Regions from separate parts of the Homo sapiens genome. Here regions 1, 3 and 4 are each linked to region 2. The links are contacts of gene promoters, found by promoter capture Hi-C in human tissues and cell types (Jung and others, 2019). All regions are on one chromosome and are shown on one strand. The core of a region is centred on a gene start or on the middle of the fragment in contact, and the rest is flanking DNA. Distances in the headings are between cores, read along the strand shown.

Region 1 (2,700 bases), core at 17-2,516, 730 kb before region 2:
CAAACAGCGGACAACCACCTCTCAATGTCCATCTACCTGGCAAACTCCTAGTTATTCATTTAAACAATCTAGAGACGGGGTTGGGTACTGAACGTGACAGATGTGATACCTGCCCTGAGCAGCCGCACCACCTGGTGACTATCCATTATTCAAAGGCCAGCTCTGCTTCCTAACTTTAAACTTCTTTAGAGCAGGACTGGAATCCTGTTGCCTAAATGAACGAACATTGATAAACACTTGCCAATAACTAAAACTCAGAGGGATAATTCTTTTTGATTTCTGCTGCAGGCATCTGAAATGCACAAAACCTTGCTGGACCCACAGGGAGACGGCAAAGGGGGCTGGACAGTGCCTGTCCCATGGACTCCCATCCGGCCTCTATCACTTCCTCCCTAGAAAACACTAAAACAATCACGCTACTCCTGCTAATCTCCGTCATCAGTCTGCAAAACAACAGCAAAATCCCTGATCCAGAGCCCAGGGGGGAGGATCGAAAACCTCGTTGTTCTCCATTACAGTGGCACCCAGCAGCCGCTCTGTGCAGGGCCGTGGGAACAGCGGAACAGGGATCGTGTGGACCGAGCTGCTCCACTTCAAAGAATAAACGACCCGAAAGAAAGAGGTTTGTGGCAGAGCCCGGACTGGAATCCGAGAAAGGAAGCGCTCGATGGGACGGCCTGAGTGCCGGAGGGGACTCACGCTGCTGCTGCTCCAGCGCCAGCTTGCACTTGTAGTAACTGTAGAATTCGCCTCCGAAAAGAAACGAGAATTTGGGGTTGTCCTTCTGCTTCTCCATAGTCATCTTCTCAAACTCGGGCCCATTGCGAGCCACGAACTGGGCGAGCTTGTCGATGACATTTCGAAGCTCCTGGTCTGGAGGACGGAGAAAAGGCCACGCGGGGCGTCAGCGAGGACCGCCCAAAGCCGGGGGACTCGGCGCCCCAGCCCCCGTCCGCCTTGCCGGGGACCCCAAGGGGGTGGGCCCCGAAGAGGCCGCCCTTGTACGGGTCCCGATAGGGGCCACACGCTCGCCGGGAATGCGGGGACCCACGGGAGAGGCCGCAGGCGAAGCCGCGAGGCCGAGCCCCGCCCCCTCCCAGACCCGGGGACTCCGGGAGGCGGGGCCGGCCAATAGGAGGTTCCGGGGAGAGAGAAACGGTCTCTCGGCCGGTTTGGGTCTCACCATCGGGGGGCAGCGGCATCTCCATGGCTCCGGCCGCGGGGAACGTCCTCCGGCGCCACACGATCGACCACCAGCGCCGTCTGCGGAAGCCGGCCGGAAGTGGCGCGAGGGAGCCGTTTACGGCGGGCTTCTAGGGCCGCTTCCGCCCGCCACTTACGGCCGTCGCTGGGAAACTCCGGAAGTGAGAGCGGGAGGCAGGCGGGAAGAAGCCGCGCGATGCCTGGCGCGCGGGAGGGGCTAGCGACGCGCACGCGCAGAAGTTTCCTGACACTTTCGCAGAGTGGGTCCCCGTCGCGCGGCGCCGCGGAAAGGCTGGAACGGCGCGGGTGGGTGTTAGTCGAGACCGGGGGGCGCGGGGCGTGCCCCTTGGTCGGCGTCGCAGCCCGATGGGCTGGCTGGTTGCTACCTCCGGGCGACCAGGGGCCTGGGGACTTCGTGCCTGGGCCAGGGTCTCTTTCCTTTCGCGGGCACAGTGAGGAGACTGCGAGGTGAGGTGCGTCCGGGTGGATCCCGGGCTGCGGCGACTGTCACATTCTCCCCGGCCAGACCGGAGGTGGAGCAGAACTGGGGGCGACGAGCTTGACTGGGATTGCAGCTGGACGTATTTAGGTTCAAAACATCCTCCTCCTGGCTTTCTTCCGCTCCACTCTTTGGTCAGGAAGACTGGGGCGGGGTACCCCCCAACCCATGCCCTCAAATTGCTGGCCTAGAGGGCACAGCGCCTTTCTAAAAGCTGCAGTTGGGTTGCCTCTAAAATAATGAAGCTAACCCTTGCTAATTGTGGGGAAAAGATAGCCAGAAGCAGCAAATTTCTGCTGTGGACGTCCGATATAAACTGATCCTCTTGAGATGGTTAATGCTTAGTTGGCTATACCTGCCCCCCGCCCCCGCCGCTTTTTTTTCCTTTATCCGTTTTTTTTTTTCTTTTTTCTTGAGACAAGGTCTTGCTCTGTGGCCCACGCTGGAGTGCAGTGTCATGATCATAGCTCACTAGCCCTGAACTCCTGTGCTCAAGTAATCCTCCCGCCTCGGCCTCCCAAAGTGCTAGGATTATAGGCATGAGCTACTTTACCCAGCCTGTTTTTTTCTGTGCAAATAAATGCACATGTATTTTAGATTAGTTTCATTTTTATTGTTAACAGCATTTTTCCACCAGATGCTTATGGATTGACAACTCTACATCAAGTGTTGCTGTAGGCTAGGAATCAACAAAACTTTTTGTATAAAAGGGACAGAAAGCAAATATTTTAGACTCTGCAGGTCAGGAGGCAAGATCAAGGATTTTTTTTTTTCTAAATGTCCTCTAGTTCATATTTTCTCATGAAGATCGAGGATCTTAATTGTTTGGTTTTTTTTTTTTTTTGAGACACAGTCTTGCTCTCTCTCGCCCAAGCTGGAGTGCAGTGGTGTGATCTCGGTTCACTGCAACCTCTGCCTCCCGTGCTCAAGCAATTCTCCTGCCTCAGCCTCCAGGGGAGCTGGGACTACAGGTGCGCACCACCACGCCCGGCTAATTT
Region 2 (2,887 bases), core at 388-2,887:
AAGAGCCACTTGAAGCCTCAGTTTATTTATTTATTTTATTTTATTAGATGGAATCTTGTTCTGCCACGCAGGCTGGAGTGCAGTGGTGCGATCTCGGCTCACTGCAACCTCCACCTCCTGGGTTCAAGCAATTCTTCTGCCTCAGCCTTCTGAGTAGCTGTGATTATAGGTGCGCGCCACCACACCCAGCTAATTTTTTGTATTTTTAGTAGAGACGGGGTTTCACCATATTGGCCAGGCTGATCTCTAACTCCTGACCTCGTGATCCACCCACCTCAGCCTCCCAAAATGCTGGGATTATAGGTGTGAGCCACTGCCCCCAACTCCTCAGTTGTTTTTTTTTTTTTGAGGGTCAAAGAAGCCGGCCACATTGGCCAGGCTCTAATTCGAGAATAGCCGGAGGGGCTGTGTAAGGTGAGCTTTGAAGCATAAAGAACTTGCCAGAAAAGCAACAGGAGGAACAGCATTCCAGGCAGAAGGAACTTCCTGGGCAAAGGCTTAGAGCCTTCAAAGAGCCGCTCTAGGTGACACAGCGAGACTCCATCTCAAAAAAACAAAAACAAAAACGAAAAAAAAAAACACAACAAAAACCCAGCTCTACTAAAAATACTATATATATCTCAGCCGGGCCTGGTGGTGCATGCCTGTAATCCCAGCTACTTGGGAGGCTGAGGCAGGAGAATTGCTCGATCCCTGGAGGTGGAGGTTGCAGTGAGCCGAGATTGAGCCACTGCACTCCAGCCTGGGCGACAGAGCAAGACTCTTGTCTCAAAAAAATAAAAATAAATAAATAAATACTTCTGGGGCTAAGGGGGAAGTGTGCACTAAGAAGACAACGGCAGCCTGGGCGACAGAGTGAGACTCCATCTAAAAAATAAAAATAAAAAAAAAAGGAAGGAAGCCTAGGGTAGTCTGATGCGGTGGTCCTCGCCTGTAGTCCCAGCTACTTGAGCGATCGCTTGGCTGTAGTGACTAGCCATGATCGCGTGACTGCAGTCTAGTTTGGGCGACAGAGCGATACCCTGTCTCTAAAAATAAGAAAAAAAAAAGCCATGAAAAAAGAGGTAGGCTTGAAATAGGCCCGACTTAGCTTCGCTCCACCTACAGTGACCCAATAAGACCAGAGTAAGTATTTTTTGATTCATGCAAATATATGTAAAATAAGGAACAAGAATTAAGTAATTGGGAAGGGCCCTGGATGCTCAGGCCACACCCACATGGGAATACCTGCCCCACATGGAGGCTCAGGCCAGCTCCACCAATCACCAATCAGCTCCTCCTCTTTCCCTAAATCGGCCTTCTCCGTCCCTCTTAGCCTATCACATTGCAAGCTCCACCTCTATTCCACGTTTCAGCCTATCACGGTAGAAGCACTGACTATTGTAGTCTGATTCGGCCAAAAACAAAAATTCACTAATTTTTTTAATCCAATCACATTTCATACTTTGCTCCAGTGTAGCCAATCACATTCCAGGTCCCGCCGCACCCAGCTCCAGGCAGCTCTCACTCCAAACCCCACCCCCAACCCAGTTTCAGCCTATCAGTTTCCAAGTTCTTTCTAGCCTCAACCAGTTTCTGTCTCTGCTTGTTCTGCAGCCCGCTGAACTACATTTCCCAGGAGGCGTCGGGGCTGCGCCGTACAACTTCCGGCTGTAAAGATGGCGGCTTCCTAGTGAGTCGGCGGCTGATTTAGAAGGAGGTTCAGGCTACGGTGAGCCGAAGGTGGGTGGTGAAAGCGTGTGGGGCCCGTTCCTAGGGGCCCAGCTCCCTTTGCCCCAAGAGATCCAGCTCCTCGCCTTTCCTGGGGCTTCCGCCTTTATTTCTGGTTTCTCCTGCAGTGTAGCCTCCATCCTTCTTGCTGCCGCTAAAGCCTTGTTTTTCTTAGAGGTGTGGGGACTGCAAGGCGCTCAAAGACCATCTTGGGAAGCCCGTGCCTATTTCCCAGATAGACAAACTGCTCCATTCGCGTCCTGTTTCTCTCCAAGGGGAACCACAGTACTAATATTTTGCTTCTCCCTCATGCAGACACCCGCTAGGGACGAGGGTGTCCTAGAGGTTATTATTCCCTTATTCACCAAGACATTTTCAGTTTTAGGTAACAGAAAACCCTACTCAATCTGGCTTAAGGAAGAAAAGGAAGTTGGTGGCTTATAGATTGGGTCTAACAGGAGCTGGGTCCAGGTGGTCAGAATTCGATCTGCAGTTTTCTCGGTGGAGACCATTTCGCTTTTTACCGAGGCAAAAGGGGCCCCTCACAGCTCTCAACTTTATTCTACCAGCTCTGCAACTCTAATGAGAGTCTCTTTTCCTTGATGACACTGCTAGAAGTTGCAGAGCTGCCACTCAATGGCCTGATTTGGGTCATGTGCCCATCCCTGAGCCATTTTCAGTGGCCAGAGAGCTGGGATGTGCTCACTGGCCGAGTAGGGGCATGGGGCTAGCACTACGTTAAAAAAAAAAAGAGGAAAAAAGAGGGGGGACTGTTATCTTATGTCGGAGTGGCTGCTCGGCTGAGAGGTGTAAAAGGCAGCCATTCTGCAGCTGAGGAAAGTGACTCCCTAAGAGGAGTGACTCATCATCAGTAAGCGGCTCATCGCCCCTCTTCCTTCTTAGTAACCAATCTTTTTTTTTTTTTTTTTTTTGAGACGGAGTTTCGCTCTTTTTGCCCAGGATGGAGTGCAGTGGCGGGATCTCGGCTCACCGCAGCCTCCCCTCCCGGGTTCAAGCGATTCTCCTGCCTCAGCCTCCCGAGTAGCTGGGATTATCCGCATGCGCCACCACGCCCGGCTAATTTTGTATTTTTAGTTGAGACGGGGTTTCTCCATGTTGGTCAGGCTGGTCTCGAACTTCCAACCTCAGGTGATCCACCTGCCTCGGCCTCCCAAAG
Region 3 (2,700 bases), core at 57-2,556, 640 kb before region 2:
AGAATAGATCAGTCTTCCCCCCCACCCCCCCACCCCCGCAACAACACACACACACACACGGAAGGGGAGGGGGCGGTCCCTCCGCAAACAGTAGCCTCAGCAAAGGGGCACCCGAGGAAGCGACACTCTGGAGTTAACCCCGACAGTCTGGGTCAAAAACCACCAGGCTGAGACCCCCAGGTGAGGGAAAGAGCCTACTGAAACAGAGCTCTTGGGTAAACGGGAGAGAAAAGTCCTCTTTAATTCACTACCTAAAAAATGGAGCTCTGGCTTGGTCAGAGACGCAATGGGTACTGAGGCCCAGAAAGGCAACAGGAAGGATCCCACCCTCCCCGAGATCATCTATCGTCGGCAGCGACCCCAAGAGGGTTTTGGCAAAGGCGTGTCTAGTCACAGAAGGGAGACAGACTCTCCACGTACCCTAGGTACCCGGCCAGGGGCAAAACAGACTGGGGGTTCTCTCCGAAGCCAGGAAGGTGCTGCCAGCCGAGAGGAGGGGGAAGAAGGACTTCCCTGATCACCCAGGAGGCCAAGACATGGGAGACATAGGTTCCCCGAGTCATACCCCGGACACCAGTTGCTTCACAGCCCTTCTCCCTCCCCTTCCCGCTCCGGGAGGGCTTCCCGGGGGTCTCGGGTCCCGGAGGGAGGGCGAGGCAGAGAAGCTTCGTCCAGAGCAGTGAGGGTCGTAGAGCTGGAGCAGAAAGGGAGGAAAAACTCTAGCCTCAGCTCCCCCGTCTGCTTCCTCCGCCCAGGCCGCACGGAAGCCTCGGCCTCACGTACCGAGCGCTGCCGGGCTGCCCGACCTGCCCCCGGCCCGGGCCCGAGAAGCGAGAGGCAGGGATGGCAGCGGCCCTCGAGGGGAGGTGGGCGCCAGACGGGTCCCCCGAAGCCCGGTGGGCGAGGGGTACAGGAGAGGGGGAGGGTCCCGGGCCCATGCGGCCTCCGTCCCAGCTCGCGCGGCGGGTACTTACGTTGCTCTGGGGGTCGATGGCCTGCAGCAGCCGGTCCCTGATCTGCTGCGGAGACGCCGGAGCCGCTGTCATTGCCTGGGCGAGGCGGGGGGTTGCGGCCGGGCCAGCGGGCGGGCGGGCTGAGGCGGGGGACGGGGGTCACTCACTCGCCGGCCTCCGGGAGCCGGAGCCGCATGTTCCCCGCGGCGCCGGGGGGTTGGGGGCGCGCGGGGTGGCGGAGAGGGGAGCCGGGGCCGGGTCTCGGTCCCGGGCCGCCGCCGCCACCAAAGGAGGAGGAGGAGCCGCCGGAGCCGCCGCCGCTCGCTGCCGCCGCCTCGAGAACCAAACTCCAGTGAGCTGCCCCCGCGCGGAGTACTCTGGGTAGTCCGCGCCGCACGCAGCGTCGGCGCCACGCTGAGGAGGTTGGGAGATGGGGCGGGCGGAGACGCCAGGCCTGGGCGGGGCTGCCCGTGTGCCACGCCCCGCGCCTCCGCGCAAGCGCGCGCAGGCGCACTCGTCCGCCCGTGACGCCCCGCCCAGCCGCCCGGCCTAGGCAGCCGTTGGGAGGAGGTTGGGCGGGGCAACGGCCCCCGTCCAGGTCACGGGGCGGGGCTTTCTGACGGAAGCGCGCGCGCAAAGAGTCCTTGAACCCGGACGCTCGCAGCGGCTACCTCGGGGCGGGGAGGGCGGCGGGAAAATCCTTCCTCTGGGAGAGCCTTCCCGGCGCGTGACTGGGGGACGGGAGTCGCAGGCTGAGCAGCTGCCGAGTTTTTTGTGAGGGCGAGGGAACCAGACGTCCACGTTGTGATTCTGCGCGCAGAAGGGTCATCGGAGTCCGGGGGTGTCGCCGCGGCCCCCCCGCCCCTCAGAGGGTGTGGGAATGGGTGTGGTGGCAGGGCGGGGGTCTGCACCGCCACGCGCGACCCCGATCGCGAAAACGTGAGGCGGCAAAGCGCCTCTGGCAGAAGCCGCCCGCCGTAGCTGGGAAAGCCGGAGGTTGCAAATCTGCGTCTACGCGGCGGCTTCTCCACCTCGGCACCACTGGCATTTGGGCGGGATCGCTCTGTCTTCGGGGCGGGTCCCCCGATCTGTCGGAAGTTGAGCGGCATCTCTGGCCTCCGAAGCGCCCCCTCCCCCAATCTGCAGTCATTGCCGCCGTCCCTTGTGGGGGCACAGTCCCCCCGCCCCCCCACCGGCAGAGAACCCCGTGATTGAAAGACCCTTCTACCCGCCTCTGCCTTGAGATTCTGTAAAACTGAGATGCTCATTCTCTTAACCAAACACGTCACAGAGGAGGAAACGGAGGCCCAAGGTCACCTAGACTTCGGGGTTAAGCCCAGAACCGCAGATGTCAAGTTTAAGGGCGCCCCTCCTCCCTCCACCCTGTTTATTGCCTTGGTAATTGCTCCCCTCTCTCTGGGAGCTCTGTTGGAAATGCTCTTGTGAGACGGGATGGAAAGGCAAGCTCGGCGGCCTCGGGAGAAATCTTTTTTTTCCCACTGTTACAGGAAGACCTAGATTTAAAACAGGAGGAAGACAGCTGATGAGAACCACATGTGTGCCTTGGAGCTGCCCGACACCTGTTAGTCTTGTATTTGTTGTGCTTCTGGGAAATATTTTCATTTGCAAAAACGGCTGCTTCTGCACGTGGCTATGGTTGCGTGCTTCTGCACATGTGAAAAGTTTTACATCACACTTGGAGGAGAAAAGAAACACGGGCAAAACACTTGTCATTTACTGCTCCCAA
Region 4 (2,700 bases), core at 190-2,689, 550 kb before region 2:
GGTGATTTGCCCACCTCGGCCTCCCAAAGTGCTGGGATTACAGGCATGAGCCACCGCGCCTGACCAAGTATCTGAAACTTCTATCCCTGAAAATATAGTAACACTATTATTATTACTTTTTCTTTGAGATGGAGGCTTGCTCTGTCGCCCAGGCTGGAGTGCAGTGGCGCAATCTCGGCTCACTGCAAGCTCCACCTCCCAGGTTCATGCCATTCTCCTGCCTCAGCTTCCTGAGTAGCTGGGACTACAGGTGCAAACCACCACGCCCAGCTAATTTTTTGTTTTTTGTTTTTTGTTTTTTATGTAGAGACAGGGTTTCACCATGTTAGCCAGGATGGTCTTGATCTCCTGACCTCGTGATCTGCCTGCCTTGGCCTCCCAAAGTGCTGGGATTACTGGCGTGAGCCACCATGCCTGGGTGACTTGTGAGTTTTTGAGACAAAGTCTCGCTCTGTCACCCAGGCTGGAGTGCAGTGGTGCGATCTCGGCTCACTGCAAGCTCCACCTCCCGGGTTCATGCCATTCTCCTGCCTCAGCTTCCTGAGTAGCTGGGACTACAGGTGCAAACCACCACGCCCAGCTAATTTTTTGTTTTGTTTTGTTTTGTTTTTTTTGTAGAGACGGGGTTTCACCGTGTTAGCCAGGATGGTCTTGATCTCCTGACCTCGTGATCTGCCTGCCTTGGCCTCCCAAAGTGCTGGGATTACTAGCGTGAGCCACCATGCCCGGGTGATTTGTGAGTTTTTGAGACAAAGTCTTGCTCTGTCGCCCAGGCTGCAGTGCAGTGGCAGGATCTCGGCTCATTGCAACCTCCAACTCCCAGGTTCAAACAATTCTTGTGCCTCAGCCTCCCAAGTAGCTGGGATTACAGGCATGCGTCACCACGCCCAGCTAATTTTTCTATTTTTAGTAGAGATAGGGGTCTCACCATATTGGCCAGTCTGGTCTTGAATGCCTGACCTCAGGTGATCCGCCTGCCTCGGCCTCCCAAAGTGCTGGGATTACAGGCATGAGCCACCGTGCCCGGTCTTGGAGTTTTAATGGTAATTAATCATGGCTAACATCTCACGGGCCCTTCCTGTGATGTAGGTGTAGTGTTAGTCTCACTCTCTATATAAATGCTTTTCATTGTCTCACCAACACAGGAAGTTAGTGAGAAAATTCAAGTGCAGAGTAGTGAAGCGTCACAGGCAAGGGACTTCACCTTTCTGCATCTTGTTTTCTTCATCTGTGAAACAGGATCATAATGTCTGTCTCTTGGGGTAATAATGTGGACTGCTAATGCCAAATGCCAACCAACTGCACCTCCTAGACTGTCAGCAAATGGCATCTTTTACGAGGAGCCGTATCAGCCTGGCACACAATAGTTAACCACTAAGTCTGGGCTGAATGCCCGGCTAAGCTGGTGCCCTAGTGCAAACAATCGCTTTCATTATCCCAGTTGCTGGGAGAATTGGGCAAGGAGAGACCCATAAAATACCTAAGACGAAAGTTACTAGGATAGCCAGGGGCTTGTCTTCCGGGTGGCGCCGAGGCCAGGAAACTGTCCTCTCTAACCTATTTCCCCAGAGGAGTCTAAATTGGTCGTTCAACTACCAGCAAAGGCTAAAGAGAGGCTGGAGCCCCCAGGACAGCCAGAACGCTGACACTGCAAAGGGCCTCTGTCCTTACTGGGGAAGCCCAGTCCTGCTCAGCTGTCTTCTTCAGCAACAAACAGAAGTCCAGAAAGAGAAACAGTTGTGGAGGAAGCTGTTGTGATGATAATTTACTGAGCACCTACTATGTGCCAGGCACGCCAGCCTTACCAGACAAGATCCTTGGGCTCATGGAATTCACTTTCTCGTGGGACAGACAAACAATAACATGTAGAAACATATCAGCTGTTGGTGAGTACCATGCAGAAAATTAAAATAAGGCGATGGCATTGGGAGTGACTTAAGGGGTCACTACGCAATGGGATGGTCAGAGACAGCCTCTCAGGAGGAGGTAGCATTGAAGCTAAAATGTGAACAACATGAACAGATGCAGCATAGAGCACTAAAGTACAGGACGTGCAAAGGCCCTGAGGTTGAAATAAGCTAAATGCATTAGACTAGGGGGTTCTCGAGTAAGGGGAATTCTGCCCCCTAGGGGACATTGCAATGTCTAGGGAGACTTTTTTTTTTTTGAGACGGAGTCTCGCTCTGTCACTAGGCTGGAGTGCAGTGGCGTGATCTCAGTTACTGCAAGCTCTGCCTCCCAGGTTCACACCATTCTCCTGCCTCAGCCTCCTGAGTAGCTGGGACTACAGGTGTCCGCCACATGCCCGGCTAATTTTTTGTATTTTTAGTAGAGACGGGGTTTCACCGTGTTAGCCAGGATGGTCTCGATCTCCTGACCTCATGATCTGCCCTCCTCGGCTTCCCAAAGTGCTGGGATTACAGGCGTGAGCCACCGCACCTGGCCGAGACTTTTTCTTTTTGAGATGGAGCCTTGCTCTGTTGCCCAGGCTGGAGCGCAGTGGCACGATCTCGGCTCACTGCAACCTCTGCTTCCCGGGTTCAAGCGATTCTCCTGCCTCAGGCTTCCGAGTAGCTGGGATTACAGGTACATGCCACCGCGCCAGCTAATTTTTGTATTTTTAGTAGAGATGGGGTTTCGCCATGTTGGCCAGGCTGGTCTCGAACTCCTGGCCTCAAGTAATCTGCCTGTTTTGGCCTC

The links. The method cuts DNA at HindIII sites, captures the fragments that hold promoters and counts their contacts. A contact is called where the count stands out against the background at its distance.
Region 1: the fragment with the promoter of CHERP here is called in contact with the fragment with the promoter of BABAM1 in region 2 in 1 of the 25 tissues and cell types used here (dorsolateral prefrontal cortex).
Region 3: a contact is called between the fragment with the promoter of MED26 here and the fragment with the promoter of BABAM1 in region 2, in 2 of the 25 tissues and cell types used here (dorsolateral prefrontal cortex and lymphoblastoid cells).
Region 4: a contact is called between the fragment with the promoter of NWD1 here and the fragment with the promoter of BABAM1 in region 2, in 1 of the 25 tissues and cell types used here (spleen).

The regions. Positions count from the first base shown.
Region 1 is chr19:16,541,171-16,543,870 of GRCh38, forward strand. CHERP (calcium homeostasis endoplasmic reticulum protein) reads right to left here and starts at 1,267. Exons shown (of 17, transcript NM_006387.6): 1 at 1,184-1,267; 2 at 700-873. The coding sequence starts at 1,208. RefSeq lists silencers at 899-968, 979-1,168. The HindIII fragment of the contact is 9,580 bases long and covers 1-2,700 here.
Region 2 is chr19:17,265,806-17,268,692 of GRCh38, forward strand. BABAM1 (BRISC and BRCA1 A complex member 1) reads left to right here and starts at 1,638. Exons shown (of 9, transcript NM_014173.4): 1 at 1,638-1,722. RefSeq lists enhancers at 688-1,147, 1,408-1,907, 1,415-2,126. The HindIII fragment of the contact is 20,462 bases long and covers 1-2,887 here.
Region 3 is chr19:16,626,898-16,629,597 of GRCh38, forward strand. MED26 (mediator complex subunit 26) reads right to left here and starts at 1,307. Exons shown (of 3, transcript NM_004831.5): 1 at 975-1,307. The coding sequence starts at 1,046. It overlaps LOC105372296 (a long non-coding RNA gene), which reads left to right and starts at 1,535. Exons shown (of 2, transcript XR_936361.3): 1 at 1,535-2,351; 2 at 2,462-2,700. RefSeq lists silencers at 1,171-1,230, 1,331-1,590, 1,841-1,920 and enhancers at 1,435-2,366, 2,471-2,520. The HindIII fragment of the contact is 10,464 bases long and covers 1-2,700 here.
Region 4 is chr19:16,718,408-16,721,107 of GRCh38, forward strand. It overlaps NWD1 (NACHT and WD repeat domain containing 1), which reads left to right and starts at 1,440. Exons shown (of 19, transcript NM_001007525.5): 1 at 1,440-1,886. The HindIII fragment of the contact is 25,691 bases long and covers 1-2,700 here.